3 separate regions of the Homo sapiens genome follow, and regions 2 and 3 are each linked to region 1. Evidence: promoter capture Hi-C in 16 types of primary human blood cells and fetal thymus (Javierre and others, 2016). All regions are on one chromosome and are shown on one strand. The core of a region is centred on a gene start or on the middle of the fragment in contact, and the rest is flanking DNA. Distances in the headings are between cores, read along the strand shown. Region 1 holds the start of PGRMC1 (progesterone receptor membrane component 1). Region 2 holds the start of WDR44 (WD repeat domain 44). Region 3 overlaps RNF113A (ring finger protein 113A).

Region 1 (4,005 bases), core at 896-3,395:
AGCTTATTTGCTTTTTCTTTTTGCTATTTCATGCTCCCACCAGCCTGATTCCCTTTCCCTAATTAGGACTCCAGAATGATGATATTTGAATGGCCTTTTAATGGTTTTGTCACAATTCAAGTGAATTAATTCGCCATTTTATTTGAAGTCGGACATTTAGGTTGTTTCCAGTTTTTCTGTATTAAAAATGAATCTCTGCTGAGCATCTTAGTAATGAAATATTTGTCTGCGTTTCTGTCTCCTTGGGATGGATTCCTGAAAATGGAATTACTAGGTCAAAGAGCAGATTTCTAGAAGTGGGATTAATGGATAGAAAATATTTTTATGGATAATAAAAGGTTATACCCAACAGCGTATGTGAGTCTCACCACTCTCTCGCCAATAGTGTGTTATCCTTTTTTTTTTCCCTTTTATCTTTCCTGTAGAAAAGTAGTAGGTGACAGCGGCATCTCCATGCTTTTCTTTTTGTTACTAATGAGACTGAACATTTTTCATATGCTTATTCACCACTGGCATGCTCTCTTTTGTGAACTACCTGTTCCTATTTTTTCCCATTTATTGACTAGAATCTTATACATTTTCTTATCAATCCAAATGATCTCTCAAATAAATATTAACCCTTTGTCATATTAGTTGCAAATGAAAATATTTTATAAGTTTATTAGCTTTCTAAATTTTCTTGGCCATACATGTTAAAAGAGATAGATTCTAACTATAGACAAGTGCCCTCAGTTTGAGCCTGTTTCTCCATGATTAAATTGAAGAGTTTTGACAAAAGATTTGGAGGGGCTGTTTCAGCTAATCCCAAATTTAGCTCTGAGAAAAATGCCTGGGCCCGATACAAAGATTGTTTGGCTCATTGCACTTTATAATGATTTAAGAAGATGTGGGGGGCAGGGATGGAAGCAGTTTTTGCCAGAAATTTTTAGAATTCTGAGGTAGGAAGCCAATCTTTACTCAAGTCTCTTGCGTGTTGGGAGGAGGAGTAAGTTATGTGCAAGCCAACAGAACACTTGGTGGAAAAGTACTGCTCTGGGCTGCAGATGTGTGCACGGCTTGGTTTTAATTATTTGTTTCCCTCTCTATCCTTTCTTCTCCTCCCCTCCCCCCGCCACCAGAAAAAGGGCCAGATTAGGACGAGGCAACCCCTTCCTCCGTGGAGGTCTGCTTCTGTGCAGCCTGTTAGCACATCAAAGGCCGGATGAAATACCTAGGAAAGGAAGGGACCAGGCCTAGGATCCTTCCAAACTCCCGCCTTTGTCTGGGCTCCAGCTCAGGGTTATTGTGACTGCCAAGGGTAGCCTGACAGACTCCAAATAGAAGAACGCTGCCAAACAAAGAAACTTTCACATTATTCTGAGGGGGGAAAAAAGAGCAACAAGAGAACGTTGCTTGTTAATGCCTGGTGACTGAGCAAATCAGTAATTGCAAAAGGGTTTTTCGGAGAACAAACCCAAAGTTAACTGGGCGATCAGATTCGTTTCCCCAGATAATAGGGAGAGTTGTGCACTGACTTTAGCAATCCCGGGGGTGTCGGTCCCACAGCATCTGGGGGAGAATTGGGGAAGGGCCATCAAGGAGAGCGAATGGGGGTTCCCAAGGTGAAAATGAGTCGTGTAGGGCTCTAACATAGAAAATGGAGTTCGAAGAATGAGTTTCCTGTCTCCTAAGACAGCTTGGAGGGCCCGGGAACGGCAGGGGGAAGATGAGGGGCTTCAGAATGGGAGGCAGGGAAAAGCCTGCAGCAACAGAAAGGGAGTCGGTGTCTGGCGCGCATCAGGTGGCGGAGGGGCGCTCGCACAGAGCCCGGCAATGCCGAGGCCCTCCCAACGGGTCGGTCTGCGAGGAGCAAAAAAGGGGTTCAGAGGAGGGCAGCGCGTGCGTCGCGCTCAGCTATAGGATGGCGCGAGGATGGCGTGAGGCTGGGCTGGGGCCTCCCAGGTAGAACTGAGGGGGGCACCGCGCGGCCGCGGGGGAGCGGCGCCGGACTCTAGAGGCTTTGGAGGGGGCCTGAGGGCTGCGGGGCGGGACCGAGCAGGGCGGGGCGCTTAGGTGGCCTCGGGGGAGGCGGGGCTTGGAGGCTCCGCCCCTCAGGCCCCGCCTCCTCCCCGGCTAGTCTTTGGCCGCCGCCGAACCCCGCGCGCCACTCGCTCGCTCAGAGGGAGGAGAAAGTGGCGAGTTCCGGATCCCTGCCTAGCGCGGCCCAACCTTTACTCCAGAGATCATGGCTGCCGAGGATGTGGTGGCGACTGGCGCCGACCCAAGCGATCTGGAGAGCGGCGGGCTGCTGCATGAGATTTTCACGTCGCCGCTCAACCTGCTGCTGCTTGGCCTCTGCATCTTCCTGCTCTACAAGATCGTGCGCGGGGACCAGCCGGCGGCCAGCGGCGACAGCGACGACGACGAGCCGCCCCCTCTGCCCCGCCTCAAGCGGCGCGACTTCACCCCCGCCGAGCTGCGGCGCTTCGACGGCGTCCAGGACCCGCGCATACTCATGGCCATCAACGGCAAGGTGTTCGATGTGACCAAAGGCCGCAAATTCTACGGGCCCGGTACGCGGCCGGCGAGGGGGGCTTGGAGACAAAAGAAGGGGGCCCCGGCACGGGGCTGGGCGGGAGAGAGGCGAGGCGGGAGCGGGGCGCCCCTGAGTGGAGGGAGGAATGGCGGCGAGCTAGGGTAGGCGGGTAGGCGGGCAGGCGGAGAGCCGGGAGGCTCCCGGGGCGGGCAGGGAACAAGAGGCGCTCTAGAGGGGCTGCGGGCCAGTCAGGGACGCGGATCCCCGGCCCGCGCTGACAGCGCTGGGAGGGGGTTAGAGAAAGAAGGCTGAGGCGCTTAAGCCGGGGGTGGGTGGGACCACGAAGCTCGAAGGCGTTGAGGGGGGACACATCAAAGCCCAGGCTGTTGGGGTAGTTTTCGAAGGTCCTGGGCTTGGGGATTCCTGGAAGGAGGAGGGGGTAGTGTCGGGTTCTAGGAAGGAAATGAGGGTGTTCCGAGGGAGGCATGGGGGAGGGCGAGAGTGAGAAAAGGTCCAGACCTAGAGAAGACGGGAAGGCCAATGACACCGGGAGTAGGTTTGAAATATGAGGGTGTGGGAGAAAACGCCGAGACGGGATTAGCAGCAGGTAAAAGCTTTGTGCCCGGTGGATAGTGATGTGTGTGTGCACTCGTGGTGTGTGCATGCGCGGTGTGTGCGTGTTTAGTGTATGTGATTTATCAGGGGTGTGTGTGTGTGGTGTGTGCATGCGCGCTTGAAATGGGTCATGCGTCAGGTATGTGTGTGGCATGTGTTTGGTCTGTGTGCGCTTGTGCTGTGTGTGGCAGATGGGGAAAGGCTGGAAGGTGAACAAGGAGGAAGGGGGCTGTTTGAGGGAGGAATAAAGGCTGAATATGGTGGACAATGGTAACGTGGCAAGCTTTTAAGGTAATATGGTATTTAGTCTATAGCAGGAGAGAAAGGATTAGAAGCCAAGAAAAATTAAAATGGAGGGAGGGAGAAGTGGGAGGATACCAAGAAACAAAAGGAGTAGAGCTAAGAAGACTGCTGGGTGGGGGGATATCAGGAAAAGCCAACCAGAGGGAAATGAAGAATGGATGACTGCTGCACTGCTGAGCTGTTGGAGAAGGCAGGCCTGATGGGTTCCTTAGAGGCGAGGTTTTTGCAAACCTGGTTGCGTATCAGAATCACCTGATGCATCTGAGGAAAAATACAGATTCCCAGTCTAACCGCCAGAGCTGCAAATGAGTCTCGGGTGGTCCGGGAGTCTGTATTTTAATATGCTTCCCAGGCGAATTTGAAAAGCAGCCAGGCTTGCAAAGTCCTGCTTTATAGAATACTTGGAGATGAGGAAGAAGAGGTTTTGGCTCCTCCAATATGGACTCCTCTAAACACAGGGAGCTTAGAGGATGTCCACATGGACGGTGCTCATTCCACACTGGCCTGAGAGAGGGAAGAGTACAGAAGGCAGTACACAAACTCAGGCATTCATTTTAGTCTCCCAGTCCAAC
Region 2 (4,005 bases), core at 406-2,905, 890 kb before region 1:
TTTCTTTGGAAGCCATAAATTCACTATTAGATATCTAGGAAGAGAATACATTCAGGTAGTTAACATCTTTCCATAAATATATATTTCCCTACCTTATATCTGGTATCTTTCCATAATCCAAAAAGAAAACAAAAAAACCTATCTTAGTGAGCAAAACGTTTTTAAAAGTTAGTACTTTGAGTTACATTTTTATACCTAGGAAGTTAATTAACATGTTTAAGACACATAAAACCTAATAATTTTTAGGTTTGACAAAAGTCATACCCTCACAAGGATCCACAAATCCCTTGTCTCCAATTCTGAAACTTCAAAAGCTCTGGAAACCAAGTTTCTGTTTTTTTTTTTTTTTAGTAATTTATTTGACAGTCAAATAGATCTATCTTAAACTTATTTGGCAGAAGCGTCTGACTCAAACTGAATGAGGCTATTTACTTGTATTTATTTATCCCGTATGAACAATCATATATCTTGCTGCAAAAATATTAATATATTTGATTACGCAGTGTTTTCCCTAAACTCCCTGGGGTATTATAGAATATACAGTATATGACATTTGGTTTTTACCCAAGTCCACTAGACCACAGCAGACCTTGCCCTGATTGCTTGACAAAGTCTAGAGCCCCTTTCCAGTTTCTCTGAGACCATACCCCTGGCTCCAATCCAGCCTTTTCTTGAATACTAATTGAGGCTGCACGAACAGCTCAAAATGCCTATCATGATGTCAGTTGGAGAAATAAATATGCTGTGTGATCATACTGAAAGTCAATGTTATCACCTTGATGGTCAATGACCCGTGGTTTAAGAAGGAACATCTCGGTTTTTTAAAAAGTACCTTTCTATTTTTATCACCGGACGCTGGGCAGTTGAGGATCAGAATTAAGCCATTAGCTCGTAGGCTTGCAATGATATCTGCTCAATAAATATTTACCATTTAGCTGACGCACATCTTGGGCAGTATGTAAGAACTTCTCTCACACTGTGTTGGCAGCGACAGACATGTGCGGAGAAAAAGTAACCGGAGGCCTAATACTGGCTCAGCTCCAGCAATAAATCCATCATTACACCATGGAACTGGCACACTCCCCGTGTATATCTCAAGGACCCCACCCTCTGGCCGGCAGGATCATATCTAGGGATCTCAATTAGAGATCTCGTAGTGAATAAGGGCGAGTTATTCTCGTAACGCCAGAGGTGGTGGACCTGCCGACGCCCTAGGGTGGGACATTCCGGGCTTGGATAGTAAGACATCGTAAATATACGCCAAAATGTCCACACCAACGTTTCCCGAGAGTATTTCTTTACAAGTAAAAGACCGACTCAAAATCACCCCTCTCAAAACGCGTCTCTTTGGAACTGCAGAGTTAGGGAGTAAGACTTTCTGCCTGACCCCACCTACGTCGGCCGCGCGCTCTCAGAGCCAGGGCACCACGCTGCTCCTGCGCAGGTCCTAGACTCCTCCCTTCGGGAGGCTCACCCCCTCCCTTCTCGGCTACTTCCGGCCCTCACCGAACGCCCTCAACGCGCTTGCGCCGTTTTGATAGGCTTCTCGGGCCGAAGTAATCGGAGCGCTGCCTCTCTGGAACCGCCCCCGCCACCTCTTCGCCCCGCCCACGTATTACCGCCCCTCCGAAATCTCGCGAGGGTAGGTGCGCGTCGGTATTTTGCGGGCAACTAGCTCTTCCAGCTGCTGTAAATTGCTGCTGCGGGAGAAACTGGAGCCGCTGTAGCCGGCGCGCCCTTCTTCCCTTACTGCGAGGAGCCACCGCCTCTTTCGCGCTCCTTATACACCTATCACTGGGAGCGGTGGCAGCAACATTCCCTGGACCAACCGCCGCCTCTTCAGGCGGCCGCTTTGCCGGTCATTCCCGAAGCCCGGCAACTGAGGGCGGCCCCCTTTCCTTAACAGTCTCCTCGCTACAGATCGTCTGCTCCCTCAGCCTCGCCCGAGACCCACTTCCCCAGTCTCGCCCGGGTGGAGGTCGACGAGGAGGAGACAAGAGTCACCCTTCCTCCAGGCGGCGCCGGCCCCCTCACCCGCGGGTGTGTCCTATAAATGGCGTCGGAAAGCGACACCGAGGAATTCTATGATGCCCCTGAAGATGTGCACCTAGGGGGCGGCTACCCCGTGGGGTAAGTGACTGCAGCTATGACAGGAAGCCGGGCATCCCAAGCCCCCCGCATCTCCTGTGTCTTCCCCCTACACCCCTCCCAGGTCCCGCTGTGTCCGCCACCGCTGTTCCTCCCCGTCTCACTGGAGGACTTCAGAACCCAGACCTGGGGCTTCTTAGGGCGGGGTGACTCGGAGAAGGGGGAGTCAGCCACCTCGGGCAGCCTCCCGGCCGTTTCCCTACTGAACGGTCCCAGGGTCGGTCTCGGAGCCCGTTTCTCTTCTGATCCAGCCTTCTGTGAGGGGGAACAGCTTACGTGCCTGAGTCGGAGATTTGTATCTGTGGGGTTCTGAGCTTACCTTTCAAACATCCGTTTTGGCCTCGGGGACCGTAGATTAAAGGAGCAGTAACAGGAGAAATGTAACTTGTAGTTTTTTATTCTCCCGTTTACCGCTAACTTACCTATTCACTTCAGAGGTGGCTGTAACTCTCCCCTATTTGCCGTCCTCTTTTTCTTGCACACAGCGAAAAGGAGCGGGGGGAAGGTTGGGTATTTGCTTAAGAAAGTCCTCTAGCGAATGTACTCTAGATCAACAGTGTTTTATTAAAATAACACCTTATCGTGAGGTAAAGGAAATCGAATACACGGTCCCTATTAGGCAGAATGCGGTCTAAAAGGATGGCCAGACAGAAGAAATGTGCACAACTGACTGCAGAGGGACAAACAAGTGCTGAGTAATCTGGTGATTGGAAGGAGAGCCCCAGCTTTGTGTTCTTTATCTAATTCTGCAAGATGTTTTAGTGGTGATTAATATGGGTGATTCTGAATAGGAAGTACAGTAGTTGGAATGCTCGCTTGACTAGGACTTGTATTTACTTACCCACTTCTCCACTTTTCAAAGTTGGGGTAGTGCTTTAAAGCGATTTCGCCGAACTCCCCTACGAATGTACGTGGAAATAGAGGCAGTGAAATATATTTTCATGCTGTAAGAACTTGAGGATTGGTAAAATGTAGATGTTAGTATAAAGGACTAATATGGTTCGAGAAGTTCACTGCCTTCAATTCTCACACTTACTCCGTGGGAGTAATAACCCGCTGTGATGCAAGTATAGTTAGCCATGCATGCTAGAAGTCATTCTAAAAACTAATGTATGTTTATACACAATATGCACCAAAAAGTTACAGTAATAAAATCAGAAAGCAATGTACGTTGGTAGATTTCAGATGTTTGTCTTTCCACCAACCTTCATGTCACTGTTGTGGGATTTTGGGGTGGCAGTGGCCAATCTTGAGATGACACCGAATCTCCTTCAAGTTCAATATCTGAGACAAGTTTAGAGCTAGGTGTAGAGCATAGGAAATACATTTGGGTTTTGAAATGTATTGGACTTCCGTGAAACTTAATTTTTGTGTGTGTGGTTTTCCCTTCAAAGTAATGAACTGACAATTCAGATTGAATGAGACACCAAGTCCTTTGGTACTTTTGTGTGTGTGTATTGGGGTGGGGGAGGGAAATCATCAGTTTATGAGCTGATCAGTTTAGAACTACTCTGTGGATATTGTTCTTTCCACTGAATAAGTTTAATTTCAAAGGACGCAAGTTATATCAGGACCTGTGTAAACTGTCTAGTCCAGTACCTGGGCACAGAGAAAGCATTCAAAATGTTCATGCTTTTCTCCTTCCTTTCTTGGCATTGGCAAATTTGTTAACTTTACACAAAGCTTATTTTGGGAGATATATAGAACTTGGACCTATTTTACTTATCTAAACCGGATGAGTCATTTTGATAGAATTGATAGAGTCACTTCTTCCCTCATGAGATAATACAGCTTCTCAAGCACTTTGATCCTCTGATATTAGGTGAAAACTGAAAAAGGTTTTTTTGGAACTCAGCT
Region 3 (4,005 bases), core at 540-3,039, 630 kb after region 1:
CCTAGAATTTAGTCATCAGCAGCATTCTTTCACCTTTTATCATCTGTGTTTTCTCCTGGACCTTTTCTCTCAGCTTATATAATAGATAACAATTCAAAGTATATCTTTTTCCATAACACTTTATTCTACTTTTGAATAACTTTTTTTATTTTTATTTTTTAGAGATGGGAGTCTTGCTATGTTGCCCATGCTGTTCTCAAACTCCTGAGCTCAAGTGATCCTCTAATCTTGGCCTCATGAAGTCCTGGGATTACAGGCATGAGCCACTGTGCCCAACCCTGAATAACTTTTTTAGTATAAATTATCAGAAATAGTTAAAAAAATGAACATTTTTTCTGGTTCTTTTGCTACTCATTGCCATATTTTTCTCTCTTTTTTTTTTTTTTTGAGACAGGGTCTCACTCCTGTCACCCAGGTTGGAGTGTAGTAGCGCAATCATGGCTCACTGCAGCCTTGATCTTCTGGGTTCAAGGGATTCTCCCACCTCAGCCTCCTGAGTAGCTGGGACTACAGGTGCACATCACCACACCCAGCTAAAATTTTTGCTTGTTTTTTGTAGAGACGGGGGTCTCCCTGTTGCCCAGGCTGGTCTCCAACTCCTGGCCTCAAGTGATCCTCCCATCTCAGCCTCTAAATGTGCTGAGATTACAGGCGTGAGCCACTGCGCCTTGCCTCCGTGACACTTTTCATTTATTTCCTTTTCGTCCGAAGCTTTGTGTAGGACATGACACTTTTCCAAATGCTTTCCTAGGCCAGGTATGGTGGCTTACGCCTGTAATCCCTGCATGTTGGGAAGCTGAGGCGGGAGGATTGCTTGAAGCCAGGAGTTTGAGATGGGCTTGGGCAACATAGGAGATCCTATTTGAAATTAAAAGAAACGAAACAGGCAGGGCACGGTGGCCTGTAATCTCAGCACTTTAGGAAGCCCAGGCGGGTGGATCACATGAGGTCAGGAGTTCGAGACCAGCTCAGGAGGCTGAGGCAGGAGAATTGCTTGAACCTGGGAGGTGGAGGTTACAGTGAGCTGAGATTATGCCACTGCATTCCAGCCTGGGTGGCACAGCGAGACTCTGTCTCAAAAACAAACAAACAGTCATTATTTAATGTCCAGCTCCATGAGGGCAGGGGCTGTGTCCATCTTGTTCACTGCTAATATCCCCCATGCCAAGCACAGTGCCTGATTTAGAGTAGCTACTCAAAGAATATCTTTAGGCCAGGCGCAGTGGCTCATGCATGTAATCCCAGCACTTTGGGAGGCCGAGGCGGGCGGATCACGAGGTCAGAAGTTCAAGACCAGCCTGACCAATATGGTGAAACCCTGTCTCTACTAAAAATACAGAAATTAGCTGGGTGTGGTGGTGCACGTCTGTAGTCCCAGCTACTCGGGAGGCTGAGGCAGGAGAATTGCTTGAACCTGGGAGGCGGAGGTTGCAATGAGCCAAGATCGCGCCACTGCACTCCAGCCTAGACAACAGAGCAAGACTCTGTCTCAAAAAAAAAAAAAAAGAATATCTTTAAATGGATTAATGAATGTGAATAAAAACCACTAACCCAGAATTTATTCTTGCATCTGTTTCGTGGGATTAGCCCAAATTCTAGCCATATCAATAAAAATTTACTAATCATTTGGCCTAACTGGCCTCCCGGCCTCGTGTTCCATCTCCCTTGTGAGCCATCCTATAGCCGCAACCACAGTAACACTAAAACAAACAAACAAACAAAAAAACCCAAGTCTGATTGTGTTCTCTTCCCAAACCTCTGCTATCTCCCCCGCTGCCTACAGAATACAGTCAACGCTCCTCAGCTTGGATTCAAGGCTTTGGCCCCAATCTCCCTTTTTAAACCTCTCTAGGCTTATTTATTAAGTGCTTATTATATGCCAAGCACTAGGCTAGTCACTGAGTTCATAAACCAGTTGGAGAGACAGGTACATTGACTAATTTTAATAAGGTGTGATCAGCACTATTACAGAGACTGTGAGAACACAGATAGTTTCAGGTAATGGATGATAAAATATTGTTTTTGACCTCTGCAGGTTCACGAGTTCTGTCTACAATAGTAATGTCCAATACAGTGGTCAGACACATTTCAAGTGCTCAATAGCCACCTGGGGCTAGTGTCTGTCACACTGGATAGCTGAGCACAGATACTTTTATCACCCATGGACGTGGGGGTTAACTATAGCTGCTTCCAAGACAGCAAGGGAGCCGGGCTCGGTGGCTCACACCTGTAATCCCAGCACTTTGGGAGGCCAAGGCAGGTGGATCACGAGGCCAGGCGATCGAGACCATCCTGGCTAGTATGGTGAAACCCCGTCTCTACTAAAAATACAAAAAAAAAAAAAAAAAATAGCCGGGTGTGGTGGCATGCGCCTGTAGTCTCAGCTACGCGGGAGGCTGAGGCAGGGGAATCGCTTGAACCGGGGAGGCGGAGGTTGCAGTGAGCTGAGATCGCGCCACTGCACTCTAGCCTGGGCAAGAGAGCGAGACTCCGTCTCAAAAACAAATAAATAAATAAATAACCAAGACAGCAAGGAACATTTCCCATATGTGAAGCCTGTGGTGCTAGCTACCAGTTCCCCAAACACAACCCCTCTCCCCAACACCTTGGCTCGGGTATATTTTGTAGTACAGGCTCCCAAGAGAAAGAATGCATGAAAGTACTTTGTAAACTATTAAGTGATACAGAAATGTGATATAATAAACAGGCTCAGAGGTCTTGCTTTCATCATGGCTTTGGTTACTTCGAGCAAATTATAGCTCTTTTCTCAAACTACTCCCACCCCTATAATTTATGCCAAAGTGTTCTGAAAAGAAACACAGGCAAAATGGTTATCCTAGGGCTAAAAATCCTGATTATACCTACCTTGAAGCTTTTAATCCAGGACCCTACTTCACCACCCGCCTGCTCTGTCACTTTCTCTACAAAGGAAGGACACGAAGTAAGACTTCCAAAAGAACAAAACGTTTATTTTTTAAATTTAAGAATTATGGGAAACCTAAGTAATGGGAATTGCATCCTCATCGGGGTCTTCTGGCAAGTCGGAAGCACCACCCTCTCCTGTAGCTCGATGCTTCTCTAGTTTAGCAATCAATTCTTTCGCTGGATTGAAGACGCCATTGGTCTGCTGGTCACAGACATAGCAGCGCGGGGTGGTGCGGAAATGCTGCAGTGCACAGCTCTCGCAGAAATAATGCCTGCACTTGGTGACAACTGGGTTTTGGAAGCTCTGGCGACAGATGAAACACTTGAATGGTATTTCCTCATCATCGCTTCCCACTTCATAGTTTTCATCCTCATAGACACCATAGCGACCCTCATCAAGCTCACGTTCGATCTGCCACCCATGCTTGTAATCTGAACGGTCATGGAGGAATTTGCAGCTGTCTCCGAAGCCGCAGAAGCCAGTCTCTTTGTAGTCCTTACAGATGTCGGGCTGGTAATCCCAGCGCACGGTGGCACGTAGATGCTCGGGCGCTCGGATGGGGCCCTTCCTCACCATCCCGGAAGAGGCATTGCCCATAGACGTATCCTTGGGCTTCATGTATTTCTGATAATTGTTGATTCCCCGATAGATCTTGTCATCCTCCTTGCCCCTCAGCTCCTCCTGGATCTTCTGGCTGCGCTCAAAGATGGCTTGTGCATCGCGCTCTTTCTCTGTGTCCAGCTCATAGACAGCTGTCGCTCCCATATCCTCTGGTCCCACGGGTTTCGCCGAACGGGTGGATTTATAAACCACGCCGAGACTCTCGGGCTCATTTTCCTCTTCCTCTTCGCTGCTCAAGTCGCCGTAAGCCGCCTTCTGTTTACCACTGTCACGGGTCTTCTGTATCATTGGATTGTGGGTCACCCGCTTCTTTTCCGGTCGAACCACAGTGCAGCCTTCGTCGCTACTGCTGCCGCTTTCTCCGGGCTCTGGGTCGCAGGCCGGGCGCTTTCTGCGTCCAGCAGCCCCTTTCCGCCCAGGCTTTTTGAAAAGGAAGGTGCACACCTGATCCACCGCCT

What was found. Contacts are between HindIII fragments. The CHiCAGO score rates a contact against its expected background, and 5 or more counts as called.
Region 2: a contact is called between the fragment with the promoter of WDR44 here and the fragment with the promoter of PGRMC1 in region 1, in 3 of 17 cell types (monocytes, naive CD4 T cells and activated CD4 T cells). The highest score is 8.8, in monocytes.
Region 3: a contact is called between a fragment that was not itself captured here and the fragment with the promoter of PGRMC1 in region 1, in 1 of 17 cell types (fetal thymus). The highest score is 5.8, in fetal thymus.

What each region holds. Positions count from the first base shown.
Region 1 is chrX:119,234,140-119,238,144 of GRCh38, forward strand. It overlaps PGRMC1 (progesterone receptor membrane component 1), which reads left to right and starts at 2,146. Exons shown (of 3, transcript NM_006667.5): 1 at 2,146-2,552. The coding sequence starts at 2,225. It also overlaps the pseudogene NUDT19P6. RefSeq lists silencers at 1,869-1,918, 1,949-2,208, 2,609-2,758. The HindIII fragment of the contact is 8,490 bases long and covers 1-3,127 here.
Region 2 is chrX:118,344,451-118,348,455 of GRCh38, forward strand. It overlaps WDR44 (WD repeat domain 44), which reads left to right and starts at 1,656. Exons shown (of 20, transcript NM_019045.5): 1 at 1,656-2,130. The coding sequence starts at 2,054. RefSeq lists enhancers at 887-1,006, 1,197-1,246, 1,788-2,331, 3,827-4,005. The HindIII fragment of the contact is 5,332 bases long and covers 1-3,829 here.
Region 3 is chrX:119,867,584-119,871,588 of GRCh38, forward strand. It overlaps RNF113A (ring finger protein 113A), which reads right to left. Exons shown (of 1, transcript NM_006978.3): 1 at 2,892-4,005. The coding sequence ends at 2,999. Among named protein-coding and RNA genes, the nearest start is that of RNF113A, 2.1 kb to the right of the region's middle. RefSeq lists an enhancer at 3,863-4,005. The HindIII fragment of the contact is 2,161 bases long and covers 710-2,870 here.